2 separate regions of the Homo sapiens genome follow, and region 1 is linked to region 2. Evidence: promoter capture Hi-C in human tissues and cell types (Jung and others, 2019). All regions are on one chromosome and are shown on one strand. Each heading gives the region's core, a stretch centred on a gene start or on the middle of the fragment in contact. The rest is flanking DNA. Distances are from core to core; before and after follow the strand shown. Region 1 overlaps KCNIP4 (potassium voltage-gated channel interacting protein 4). Region 2 holds the start of KCNIP4 (potassium voltage-gated channel interacting protein 4).

Region 1 (6,882 bases), core at 3,938-6,437, 72 kb before region 2:
AGAAATTTTCTGTTCACTGATCCCCTCTCCTCCACTCTTCTCCTTGGCTTTGATTTCCCATTATTTCTTGTTATATTCAGGGTTGAGCCCAGTCTTTCTCCCCTGCTGCAAAACCACACTGCAGTTTTCCCTGCACCAATTGGAATAGTCCTGAATAAAGTCTGCCTTACCGTTTTAACAAGTGTCTGAATAATATTTTTTAACACGGAGAAAGAAAAAAAGCAATGGGAAATGATGATGCCTTGTCCCCTGGTAGATAGAACAGAGAGCTTAAGTGTCCTATCAGCTGCAATTCCCTGACCTGGGAATCTCTGCAGCCCTCAGAGAAGGGGAGAGCCAGAAGGACCCAGCTGATCCTGACTACAAAAGGTTGATATTGCTGAACTAATTCACAGCCACTGTCTTATCCCCAGGAACAAAATTCCCTCCAACCCACCTACCTTCTTTCTCACAGGCCCCCTGAGAAACGTGAACGCCTGGCATTCATCATTCACACTCAGGGCTTCTGAACTCCTACTCCAGCGCTATGAGCCAGGATTTATTCTATCAGGTTTCTGCCTTTGTCCTTCAGAGTGCTGAATGTTTTGATAATCCCCTTTAAAGGCAGGAGTGATCCACAGGCTAAAGAGAAGCAGCAGGCGTTTTGACGATTGTAGGTATGAATAGACTCTTGTTTCATTCCAGGTCGAAGTACAGAATCGTGACCCAAAGGCTAGTGATCCAAAAACGAGATTTTTATAATGCCTTAGAATACATGAAGAAAGGAGGGACAGAGAAAAAGGAGATGCAAAGACCTCCTGATAAAAGTTATCTTAAGAAGGAATAGATAATAGATTCAGTTACCATGAATGTATTTCACTCTTTCTGTGTCTCAAATAATATGCATACAACCCTAAGATCTAATTTATTTCATTTCAGCAAGGGGAGTATGCCTGAAGAGATGTACTGGCAAATATTTTTCAAGAATTGTTAAAATTGTCCTGAGGTTGTAAAGCTTCATTATTTCTAACTAAATGGCAAATATAGTATTAACTTTTTCTATGAAGCCAGTATAGAACACATCCATACAGCTGTCACAGAAAATGTAACCTTCACCTTACAATTGTTTCTTAGATTCCACTTGGAAGTGGTCTGGAACTTAAAACCTAATCATTCATGATTTCCAACATGGTCCATTAGCTCCAATATTCATGTATAGATTCATTGATATCATTAGTAAAAATCTTTAGAAATGTGAACCACAGAAAGGTATCCACCATTTTGTATGTGCATTTTCTCTGTCACTTTTCAAAGTATGACAGAAGTAGAGAGAACCACGTTGTCCAAATAAAACCCAATCTCTTTGAATGTTTAAATATTAAATTAATTTATTCAACAAAGATTTAGAGAGCCTTCCAGGTATAAGGTGATATATACTTGAAACGAGCTTGTAGTAAAAAGGTTTCCTCTCATAGAAAAGGAGTGTTACTAAACCTAAATGATACAATGCATTATGCAAACCAACCACTCAGCTGACCCACAGTTGAAAGCACTTACTGCCTCATAGCCATGCCCATCAATTACAGAACTCATTTCTGCTGAGCCCTAGATAGACCTGAAAATCTACCTCAAAAGAACAATGCAAAAACAGTATTATCAGTCCATCAGAATTAAAAGAAATGAAAATAATTTGGCCTTTTAGAGTTAGCTAATACACACATACCACAGTGCCTGGCACAAAATAGTCACTGAGAAAATGTTTGGTCAATGAATGATTCACTGAATTCACTGTTGAAAGACTGAATTATTACTATTGGACAAAATCATGAGACTAAACATTTAGGACAATCTATCTGAACATACAAACAGCCTTGCCAACCACAACAAAATTATAAAAATAAGACCCAAAGGAATCCCTAATTGAAAGCATCCCGGTTACAAAATAAGTCCTGAAGTGAATTCTGTAAACAGATCAATAGGAAGTTTCAAATAAATAGGTCTTGTAGGAGTAATCAATGCTGTCTGGGTGAAAGATTCAGCAGGCTTCTAAACAACAGAGGGCATTTATCTTTGAACAGATTCCTTGGCCATTTGAGGGCAGGAAGGTGAACAAGGCTGAGACCTATTGTCAGGCTAGCTGAAATTCTACCTCCCCATGCATTTTGTTCACTCTGCTCACACAAGATAATTTGCTTGCTCTCTCTACATTTTCTGAAGACTTGCAAGGCAAAAATCCTGGGCTCTTGCCAAGCTGTATTACATTCACTGTGACTGATACGCATAGCCGCAACAAGGAGTAGCACTGTTATTCGAAGGGGGCACTTAACCATATCATTGGGTGGAATTGTTAGACCAGAATGGTTATGTCACATTCGATTACAATGTACACAACATGTTAAGTCTAAAGCAGGAATTATTTATAGAACCCAACTTTCATTGTTAGAGAAGCTTCCTGAGACTGCTTGAATTCTTACTGTTCCCTCCTTCTCTAAATTGCTAAATGTATCTTTTAATATTTTGCTGACTAATCTCAGTTGCCTCTTCACATTTACTCTCTGTCCTTCTCCATCATGCTGCATGAGGCCGTCTGTCCAAACTGCTTTACCTGGGTTCCTGAGCTCTCTGGCTTTCAGCTGGTTTGGGGGTTGATGGAGACAGACATTAGAATGTATGTTCTCTGGGATCTGACCCACAGAGGGAGAGAGAATGGCTGTGCTCCTTTAGATAAGGCTGTAACTCCTATCAGGAGGTATTTCCCTGCAGTGATAGCCACAGCTCTCTCCAGATTCTGGAAAAGGCTTCTTCCCCTCTCAGTTTCATGGGTTAGTAATGGCTCCTGATATTTGCTACTCCTTGGGTGCTACACCATTCTATTTTGCTTCTCTTTTTTACCCACAAATTGGTAAATTGTTCTCTCACTTAACCTCTCTTCAATCACCCTATTTCATGCCAGGATTCTAATTTATATAAATACATATCACAACATTTAGCATTCTTTTTACTATTTTTACTACCTTTCCATATTTCCCATCTGATTCCTGTATAAATTTCTAATTTCTAACTTGATTGTATTTCTCTGAAACAAGGAGTGTGCCACATCCTCTGGGCTCATAAGATTTCAATAGAGGGTAGGAATTGATGTGGTTCTCGAACTCTTATTGCTGGGAAGGAGGCATATTTGAGAAGAGTTCTGACAACAAACAACGACAACTAAAAATTGTTGAGAGCTCACTATCTGCCAGACAACTGTGACAGACATTTTCCCTATAAGTCTGTGTTTTATATAACTACCTTGTAAGTTATATCTTATTATTGTCATTTCTTAAGATAAGGAATCTGAGGCACAAATGTAACTTAAACAAGGTCACAGAGCTAGTCAGTAGAAAAGCCACGATGCAGACTTGGGTCTGTCTGATTCCTGAGTTCATGCCCTTTCCCACTATTTGAGATCATCACTCATAATGGACACCATGACTATTGCTCCAGTGAGCCAACTGCTGCAAATAGAGCTGATTCTTCATTAGACACAGAGTCACCAGCAGCCAATAGAGACAGGATTTGATTAATTCTGGAATTAAATTCAAACAAATAAATAGATAGAAATAAGTATTTCTGTGGTTCATGTTTTTCACCTATTTACTCATAAAATGCTTTTCTACGTTGAAATAGTCAGTGGTGATTTGGACATGTTGCACTTAGTACTCCATATCTGTGAGTTGTATTAGGCATTTCTATACCAGTAGAAGTGATTTTTTTGGCACAATGTCTAGTATGCTGTAAGCACTTAATAAGTATTATAATCAATTAAGTTGTTATAGAAGCCTTCTTGTCACCGGAAATCAATGCCTGTGTTCAGCACTGAGAGAAGAACATTGTATCCTTCACAAACAAATACGATTTTTGATTATTTGATGCTGAAAAATTAAATATGGCAAATTTTCAGATGAGTATAATTGCACTGTATTAATCACACAGGCCTGATTTCATTATAGTAAATGCTAATTTAATGTCAGATGCATTTTTTCTAATTGGCACGAGAAATGCTTTTACTTCACATGCCACATGAAAATATTTCAGATCATAGAATTTCAGAAGAAAATACAAGCTTATTGACTTAGAGGCATTTCAGGACAAGTAAAATACATTCAAATTATGGTCTACATAGAAAAAGGAGACTTCAGAAAAATCAATTTAAGTTCTTAATTGTTTTTGAACCATGGATCCCTTTCACAGTTTTGTGAAGCCTATGGCCTTCTTCTCAAAACAATGCTTTCCAATGAATAAAAGAAAATACACAGGTCCATAAAGAAAATTAATCATATTGAAAAAAGCTATAAAAATATTACAAAAGTAAAATTGTGACATAGTGATACACTTCACTATGAACGTATTAACTATCAATATGTAGAAATGGGTCAAATACTGTAATTTTTAACTATATCTGTAACAACTGCAATGTGATATTATGATTATGATTCTATCTATGATTTTACTGGAGGCAAAGTTGCACATAATCTCTGTGCTTTGTTGCTTACACACCCATAATTTAAGGACCTTAAATTCACTGGAAGTTAGTAAAATAAAGATTACATTTTTATTCCTATGTAAGTTCACTGAACCCTTAAATTCTATTGGTGGGTCCTGGGTTAAGAAGCAGAAGCAGGATTGTAAGCGGAGTACTAAATGAGGAAATACATTAATTAGAAAGACAGGAGGAAGGAAAAGACTCCCTTTCTCCAAGACTAAGTGGAAAGAAAACTGGGGCTGTTCGAGTGGAATTAATTTTAGAGCCAAATATACTCTTGCTCCACAGAACAAAATAAAATGCTATTTTAAAAAAATAAGTTAAAATAGATTTCAAGCAGACTGCCTCATGAAAGTCTTTGAAAACAGAATGTGCTGAATTTTGAAGTGATTGACAGGATGAAGTGTTTTTTAAAATTTCTAATGTATATTTCATCATAAAAAAGTGAGTGAAAGTTCAAAAAAAGAAAATGGTAGGACTATACATTTATTTTATATACATGATAAAATCAAACATGTTTTGTCAACGGGAGACTTGAGTCTGGATTATTTATGTTAGCACACTCTCAAATTTGTAGTGATAACAGGCCATGTGCAAGCCAGTCCATCTGCTAGTGGCCAGACAATCTTAGACAGGCACCACTCAATTGCCTGGATTAGGAGAAAAAAAAAAAGGATTAAAGATCAGCAAAAATACACTGACTAAGAACAATATCAGCAGATTTAAAAATAGGTCCATTAAAACCAAATACTGGGCTGGGTGCAGAGGTTCACAACTGTAATCCCAGCACTTTGGGAGGCCGAGGCGATGGATCACCTGAGGTAAAGAGTTCAAGAACAGCCTGACCAACATGGTGAAACCACATCTCTACTGAAAATACAAAAATTAGCCAAGTGTGGTGGCGGGTCCCTGTAATCAGAGCTACTTGGGAGGCTGAGGCAGGAGAATTGCTTGAACCCGAGAGATGGAGGTTGCAGTGAGCTGAGATGGCACCACTGCACTCCAGCCTGGGCAACAAGAGTGAAACTCCATCTCAAAAATAAATAAATAAATAAATAAATAAAACCAAACACTGAGTTACCATTGTCATTAAATGTATAACATAGGACCAAGGTTGGTTTTATGGTGTTACCCTAGAATGGATCAGGAATTTAGAGGGCATATAGTAAGTATTACTCAACAGGACTAAATGGTCACCATAGTAACAATCTAGTTACTCTGTATCTTAAGTCTCTCCTCCTAATTTCCCTCTTCAATGGCCACACTGAATTTCCGGGTTCTTGGTTTTTCCTACCACTCTCCTTTGTTCTCTGGCAATGACTGCCCTCCTGCCTACCTGATTTTTCACCACTGCATATTCTGACCTGAAGAACTTAGTTCCATTTTAGTACAGATGACTAATCTCCCTGCAGATGCCTCTATTCTTCCTGGACCACCAGGTGTTCTCTAGTCCTGCTTCTGTTTCTAACCCTTCTCCTTTTACAAGAATATCTCTTAGATATTAAATCTTGGTCCAGCAAAAACCTAGAAGGCCTTTTCTCTCCATGTCACACAATAGACACTGAGGAATGTTCTGGGGTTGTGGACAAAGAGCCAGAGCCTTCTCAGAACAATTCAGATATGCTGAGTGAGCACAGAGAGATTTCTGAGAACAGGAGGGTAAGAACTTCCAGAGAACACAGGCCCATGGAAACTTACACTTTTGTATGTGTGTGTTTTGGGTGTTTGTTTGTTTGTTGTTTGTTTTGAGATGCAGTCTCTCTCTGTTGCCCAGGCTGGAGTGCAGTGGCACAGTCTCAGCTCACTGTAACCAGTGGTATGGTCTCTGCTGACTGTAGCCTCCACCTTTCAGATGCAAGTCATTCTCCTGCCTCAGCCACCCAAGTAGCTGGGATTACAGGCACACACCACCACGCACAGCTAATTTTTGTATTTTTAGAAGAGACAGAGTTTCACCATGTTGGCCAGGCTGGTCTCTAACTCCTAATCTCAAGCGATCCACCTGCCTCGACCTCCCAAAGTGCTGGGATTACAGGCATGAGCCACAGTACCCGGCCTTGCCCTTTTGATTTGAAGATCACTGTGTCCTCTGATCAACACTTTCTGCATACAGAATAGTTTTCACATCTTCTGCCTATATTAATTAAGTTCATATTGTTTTCTGCTATTGGTCTGCATTCTTTCACCTACTACCATCACCCTTTCAAGAAGTATGTACTTTCTCTGCAAATTAATGTTCCTGGTCCCTTCCAGCTAAACCTGGCAATACCCAAGATGACAATGAGCAATGCTTTCAACATTATTTTAGCAAATTTACTACTTTAAAGCTTAGGTCACCCTTAGGGCAATTTCTATATTTAAATGAATTATTTTATTTT
Region 2 (7,393 bases), core at 3,520-6,019:
ATTGTTTTCAGAAGATAGAGCATGTCTTTTTAGACATACTGACTTTAAGGTGCTGGTAAAACTTTCTTATGAGTCTGACGAGCAGAAGAGGAATGGAGCAGACTATACACTCAAGAGATAACTCCCCATCAAAATAAGAATCAAAGCCACACTTTGATTAGGAAGAGAGTATAGAGGGAGAAGATAATTAAAAGACAACCATGTGAAAGGCTGCACAAAATGGGCAAAAAGAGGAAATAAGTGTCATAAAAGGAGATCTGGCTGGGCGCGGTAGCTCACGCCTGTAATCCTAGCACTTTGGGAGGCCGAGGCAGGAGGATCACTTGAGGTCAGGAGTTCAAAACCAGCCTGACCAACGTGGTGAAACGCCATCTCTACTAAAAATACAAAAAGAAAAAAAAAATTAGTCGGGCATGGTGGCGGGTGCACCCGTGATCCTGGCTACTCGGGAGGCTGAGGCAGGAGAAATGCTTGAACCCAAGAGGCAGAGATTGCAGCGAGCCAAGGTCACGCCACTGCACTCCACCCTGGGCAACAGAATGAGACTCCGTCTCAAAAAAAAAAAAAAAAAAAAAAGAGAGATCTGAGAGAAATCAGAGAAAGGAGAATAATTCAGTGCAAGTGGGAAAGGCTTCATTCATTCAATATCTGTTGTTGAGCAAATATTACAAGTCAGACTTCATGCTCAATACTGGGGATAAAGTGGTGGACAGGACAGAATACTTCTGCTCTCACAGAGCTCACAGTCTTCCAACACATGTTGGTAAACAGCATGAAACATCCCAGTGAGTTCAGGACGACACGAATTGAGAAAAGTCCCTCAGGACCTTTAACCAAATGAATACTTTTGGAATGAAATGGGTGCTTCAATGCCCAAGGGTAAATTAATTTATAATAATGGGTGCAGTTATATAATTTTGAAAGATTTTTCAGACTTGCAAAGGATCCTTGAACAAACAAAATACTCATCTCCCCACAACCCCCTCCCTGCCTCACACGTTAATCTACTTGAAATAGTCGCTAAGAAGAGAGGCTATTAAGTAAAAAAACACATTCTGTTATGTATTATTGAAAAGCAATATTATTCACATGTTCTGGAAAAAGTGAGAACACGAAAAATAAATAAAAGGACAAAAAATAGTAAGAAGGGCTTAATAATTTAAGCCCAGAAATATATCTTCAAAACAATCAACCACTACCTGGCCTACAATTCTCCAGAAATCTTGCACACAGATTTTATATTGCATGGCTCATTAATTTCCAAACCATCCACAGCTTTATTTTATGAGAGGGCATAAGCTTCAGGCCTGGGGAGAGAGGGTGGCTGAATTTCAACACTTTGTCCTATCATTTGTTTAGTACACCTCTTACATTTATATGACATAAAGAAAATAAAATAATGATTGTATGATGAAAAGCTTTTCATGGATTCAGAATAAATGGATTTTTCAATATTACCCTTGTGGAATTACTAATTTGAGTTTGCCTTATTTTTAAAACACATGAAACTTAAGCCAAAGCCACGATACATCCATCAAATGGCAATTCAAAATTGAAGACATTTTTTTACTCTACTATTGAAACATACATTTTCCTCATTTTTAGTTGTAGATTACATCACATAACATCTGCCATCTCTAAGTTAGATGGCACAAATTAAGGACACCAATGAATAATTTTGTAGTTTTTTTTTTCCTCTGACCTTGTTTCTGATTCTCTTTCAAACATAGTTGAATTATCATCTCCCTCAGTCTCTCCACTGTTAGCAGGATTACGTTCTGATTTTATAGCAGGAGTGCAAAATATGGGATTAGACAATGAAATGAAAAATGTATTTTGGTCAGGCTTTGGGTTTAACATGGAAGCTGGCAGGGCAAAAGTGAGCACTCTAATTTGTAAGAAACCTTCTCTACTTGTATGTACTTATGCACAACTCACCCATTTTCTGTCCTCTCTGGCATTAACAATGTCAATTACAGTGATTTACAGGTGGTGTTCATCAGTTAGCATACTAGATGCGTTTACTTGTTGAGAAGAGAGTACGGAACGAACTTTTTAAACTAAATTATTATAAAGTTTCAGAATTGCAACTCGACTCTGTTCTGTCATTTCCAACATTTCCTCTCTACTTTCCATTCATGTAGTTTCATCCTTTGCCTTTCAGCAAACCATTTTTCACAGTGTTCTATCTCTAAGTCAGGTCATAAAATACATACACGTACGCACACAGACTCACACTTCTCTAATTCTTGATTTCTCTATCATCCACCTACATTTCTCTCAGTTAGATCTTCCAGTTAAATTTTGCTTAGATTCCAGCTAAATCATCTTATAAACCTCCATTCCAGAGATATATATTCAAGGAAAAACTGTATCATAGTACAAGATAGTTTGGGAGTTATATAAATAGCCTACTTATTGGAAAGAGAACAAGAGATCGGGACTATTATTTTAAAACAAAAATGGAAGACAGAGTTTAAGCCTTTAAAAATCATCCCTTCTCATCCCAGGATTAGTAAAGACCATCCTATATCTGATCACAAGTAAGCAAAGTACTTATGCATATGTTTGGTGAAAATAGTATTACATATTTGGGGATCATTCTCTAATATTAGCTTTGAAGCAATATCAACAAGAATAAAAAAGATAATCCAAACTATTTTTTTCTTTATTCTTCTCATCATATGACAACTAACTAAAAATTTGTGAATACAATTCAAGAAACAGGTGTCAAATCAATTCTCAGCCAGAAAACTCATCACTTTGGTCTCACCTTAGCCAAGGTATAAAACAACATATTTCTGTTCTCTAAATAAACAGTGAACACATGCTGATTCTGGAGATAGCAGTAAAAGGTTTGCTTTTTTAAATGTATAGTACTCCCCAGGTGTGACTTCATCTTCATTTCCCATTTATAGTGATTATGGCCACCCATGACCCTGTGCATAGTCTAGACATGCTGATTCAATCCCCATCCGGTTGATGGAAGAACAGGTACAGTCAAAGAGCTGTGGTCACTGAGGAGCCAAGCAATGCAAGCCATCCAGATCCTGAGACGACATTCCTGCCATCTGCTCCAGCCTTGAGTTCCCTGGGCTGCCGTGTGTGAATGTGTCTCTAATAGGACAGCGCTAGCCCTCTACCCTGTTTATTCTAAAGAACTGCAAAGACAGAGACCCTACGAACTCAACTCAACACCCCAAAACTACTCAGCCCTCTACATTAAACACGCCACTCAGGAAACATTTGATCTCTTAAAGATTGTAAGCATTTCTCACAAGAGATAATCTACTTATGCTTGGCTCGTAATGAGTGGGCATCTCCAGGCATAAGTGAAAACAGAACTAAACACAGTTACAAGTCAAATGTGGGGCTTTACAGGTGATGTTCATATTATTTTTTCCAGTCCAAAAGGATTAAGACTGTTCTCTTTAAAATTTCATATTCAAGTGAGACTAGTGTCCTCCCGGTTACGATGACCTTAACTATTGGAGTGAGGAAAAGAAAGGGAGGGTGTCCATTTCCATTTCTCATGGCCATAAATTCGAATGATTGACTCAAGTTGTTGAGGTGACTCCATTTCCCTGAGTACTAAAGAAGGCAGCAAGTGGAAACACCTCTTTGCTTGCAAGTTTACAGCCCTCGAGTCCAAGTTTTTCACCCTCTAAACCCAAACTATGCTATAGCCATATGTGACCCCTTAGCTTATGTAATCAGGGAGAGGTCCAGCCCTTTATCACTCTCATGTGCCCCAAAATCACTTCCATTCTCTTTCCGGCTCCTGTAAAATACTCTGTACACATCAAAACCACCTAATAACAAATCGATGCAACCCAAGACGCTTTGTGGAAGGGCATCGTCTCCTATTTCTCTATGGATCCCACCAAACAGCAAAACATTTCTCCCTGCTTTCGCAGAACGCACGTTTCTCTGAAAGCCAAGCTCCTAACACAGTGCCCGATACCTTAACAAGGCTGTACTGTATATAAATTATTTGCAAGTGTCACTGAGGACCATTTTCTCTGAACACACTAAACTGAAGCTAGCCATAAAACAAGCCATACGCTCCTGCTTTAGAATCTGACATGGGCAAGATGCCGCCAGTATATTACCAGGGGACAAAAATACAGTTGTAATGAAGAAACGTGTGGGGGCATGAAGGAAAAGTGGAAGGCGAGGATCAATACTATTTCAGCTCATTAATCCCCAGGTGTTAGGGGAAGGAAGCGTGCGGTCTGGAGTCATCTGGCAGATGCATAAACAACCTCGGAAATTTTCAGAGAAGGCAAAAGTACGCACAGGATCGCAGGGGACCCTGCCACCGGCGAGTTTCAAACACACTTCAAACATCTTTTCTTCCCCGACCTGGATCTTGCATGCACCCCCCTCTCCTTTGCACCCCATTCCTGCCGCTCCCACCTCCCCTTCCCAGTCCCGCCAGGTGACTGTGTCTCATGCAGCGAAGGCAACAAGCGTCCCCAGCCGAGGAAGGGAAGGGGCAGCCGTCTTGGCTCGCGAGGGAAGGAGGGCGGAAGCGGGCGCCCGCTCGCAAGCTTATTGCATCCTACCGCCTGTAGAGCTGGCCTCCTCCAGCTGAGCCGAAATGCTTTCCACCCTCCTCACATTCATGTCTAGGGACGCAGGGTGCAGAAGCGAGACTCGAGAGTCCACCGGCCAGGGGCGTCTGTCCACGGGTCTGCACGGGAGCGCACCGCCGCTCGGCCCGGGGGCGTCCGTGGCGCTGGGAGCGAGAGCTTCGGCGGCGGCTGCGGGCAGGGCGCGCGGAGCGGGCTGCAGGTGCGGGCGGAGGCCGGCGGGGGGCGCCGGGGGCGCTGCGCGGCCCTTGGCGGCGGGGGCGCGCGGGGTGGCGGGGGAGGCCGAGGCGCCGGCAGCTTCGCGCCGGCGGCTGGAAGCGGGCGGGCTGCACGGGCGGCTCGAGTGCGGGGACCCCAGCCCCTCGCCCTCGTGAGCGCCGCCCCTGCCACCTGCTGCCAAGTCACCGGACTGGGGATGCGGGGGGCGGGGTGCGGGGAGAGGAAAGCGCCGCGGGTGGCACGGTGCCTCTGGCGACAGAGTAGATGGACCCGAAAGAGACCCGAGGTGACTTCGGGCTGGGCAGGACACCCCCGGGAGTTGCCAGCGGCTCTCAGCGGGCGCCTCTAGGACCCCTTGTCACTGCGAGCAGCGCCTGCTCTGGGGAGGGGCTCGAAGGCGCCGCGCCTTCTCAACGCGCCGCTGCGTCCCCCAGGGGCTCCAACTTGGACAGCTAGACTGGAAATACTGCTGCACAAAGTTAGGCTGAGTTCGAAGGACACCAGAGAGGAAGCGCAAGGAGATGCCCTTCTCCGGAGCCGGGCAGAGCGCCAGAACTCCTAGACGGGAAACTTTCCCCCATTGAAGCTAGAACCGGTCATGCGACTCGGCTAAGTGTGGGGAAACACTGGCTCTAGACTCCAGGTGAACATCGCAGGGCCGAGGTGCAGAATACCACCTTGGAGAGAGGGGGTGGCATAGACTGGTGGCATTTTGGAGAAGCATCCATGTGGGGGGTTTCATTTGAGATCTCCCAGGCAGGTCAACCAGGAGGTATCGCTCACCACCCGCAAGGTCATTTGCCCTTCTAAAGCACAGTAAGGCCGGGAATAGTTGGGAAGGTAAAGAGAAACCAATAGACCACTTGTGGCCATGGTTACTGTTTGAGAAGTCAAAATTAAAATGCAGATTTCTGTGTCCCCAAGAGTCAAGTGCATGAAGCCTCTCTTTTCAGAAGAAAGGTCAAGTTGACCCGTTCTCCAGGCAAACTGAATTAAAATTCCCTCTCACTCTCAGCTGCAAGGTCAGTTGGCCATGACTTGGGTGGAAGCCATTTCTAAGTGTTTGTGAAACTATTTGCCTTCCCTATGGCTGCTGGATTATTTATACACACTGTCACCAAGTGAAATCTTCCCCCTTTCTCCAAGTAGGTCTCAATTGACACCTTATTGCCCTTCTCCCCACCCCCAAACGCACGAGCGATTTACTTAGTCCTTTGAGCCCTTGTAGCATGTATTTGTATATTTCTTGAGAGCCTTTTACTCTTTTAGTTCATTGTTAAGGAGACAGATGCTGACACCCCATTGTCTGGGTTCAAATCCTAGTTCCACTACTTCATAATCCTGTGGCCTGGTACAAATATCAGCTATAACTGGTACCTACATTATTGTTTTGTTGTGAGGATTTAAGAAAATCAATAGATGCAAAGGGCTTAGAGCCGTGACTGGCATGTAGCAATCACTGTATAAAGACAGGCAACCCTGATTCTTGAAGTTGAGAACAATGTTATATTGACAAAGCAATTAGAAAAGTTCCTTGCACATAGTTGGTCTTCACTAAACATTTGTTTTTTCATTATTCAGCAAACATCTAGTAACTACTGTGTACAAGACACAATTATAGGCACTGGGATACCACAGTGAATACAACAAAGACCCTCAGTTATTGGCTGACTATCTAGAAGGCAGAGAGACTGACAATAAATCAAGGAATCAGAAGTGATCTGCTAGGGAGATCACTTTTATATAGGGGGTCCATAAGGGCTTTATGAAAGAGGCAACATTTAATTGGAATCCTGATGAAAGCGAGGAGCTAGCCATGGGCATCTCAAGGGAAAAAGAACTTCCAAGCAGAGAGAAGAGCAAGAGCTAACATAAGAATAGCATGTTTGCAGGGCAGCCAGGAGGTTGACAGGGCTGAAGTACATTGAGAGAAGGAAAGGGTAACAGGAGAGAGAGTCAGAGAGGATGGGATCATGTGCAGTGTAAATGTTTATTGAATTTTGTCTGCATACTTTTACAGCCAATGCATTCTTCCCACTTGCCAGCTTCCTCATAACAAGTCTTCTCGCTGCCCATTCTATCAGATTCAATCATTCGATTCTGTCGCGTGCCACCTTCTCCCTCTTCTGCAGACTTCTCCTAGCAAACTTCCAACTTACTGACCAACTACTTCTTTCTCTTTTTCTGTAGCTAACACTCTTTCCAGAAACCACCCACAACTTTGAATCACTAATACTTGTCCAACTCCAAATTTTGTCTTCTATATGATGACTTCTAAAGCTACCTGAGCATGCTGGTTTGGATTCTGCAGCCTGGGTTGGAATTCCAGTTCCAACTGTGAACAAGCTGTATGTTTGAGGACTAATAACCTCCCTCAGTTTTCTCACTCTAAAATGAAGAAAATAATAGTGTCAGCCGGGCAAGGTGGCTCATGCCTGTAATCCCAGCACTTTGGGAGGCCGAGGTGAGCGGATCACCTGAGGTCAGGAGTTCGAGACCAGCCTGGCCAACATGGTGAAACCCCAACTCTACTAATAATACAAAAATTAGCCAGGTGTGGTGATGCATGCCTGTAATCC

The links. Contacts are between HindIII fragments. The study calls those that stand out against the background at their distance.
Region 1: a contact is called between a fragment that was not itself captured here and the fragment with the promoter of KCNIP4 in region 2, in 3 of the 25 tissues and cell types used here (H1 embryonic stem cells, dorsolateral prefrontal cortex and pancreas).

What each region holds. Positions count from the first base shown.
Region 1 is chr4:21,871,815-21,878,696 of GRCh38, forward strand. All of the region lies in intron 1 of KCNIP4 (potassium voltage-gated channel interacting protein 4), which reads right to left. Among named protein-coding and RNA genes, the nearest start is that of KCNIP4-IT1, 22 kb to the left of the region's middle. The HindIII fragment of the contact is 3,864 bases long and covers 3,256-6,882 here.
Region 2 is chr4:21,944,003-21,951,395 of GRCh38, forward strand. It overlaps KCNIP4 (potassium voltage-gated channel interacting protein 4), which reads right to left and starts at 4,770. Exons shown (of 9, transcript NM_025221.6): 1 at 4,569-4,770. The coding sequence starts at 4,629. RefSeq lists enhancers at 4,717-5,217, 5,218-5,718. The HindIII fragment of the contact is 8,414 bases long and covers 2,986-7,393 here.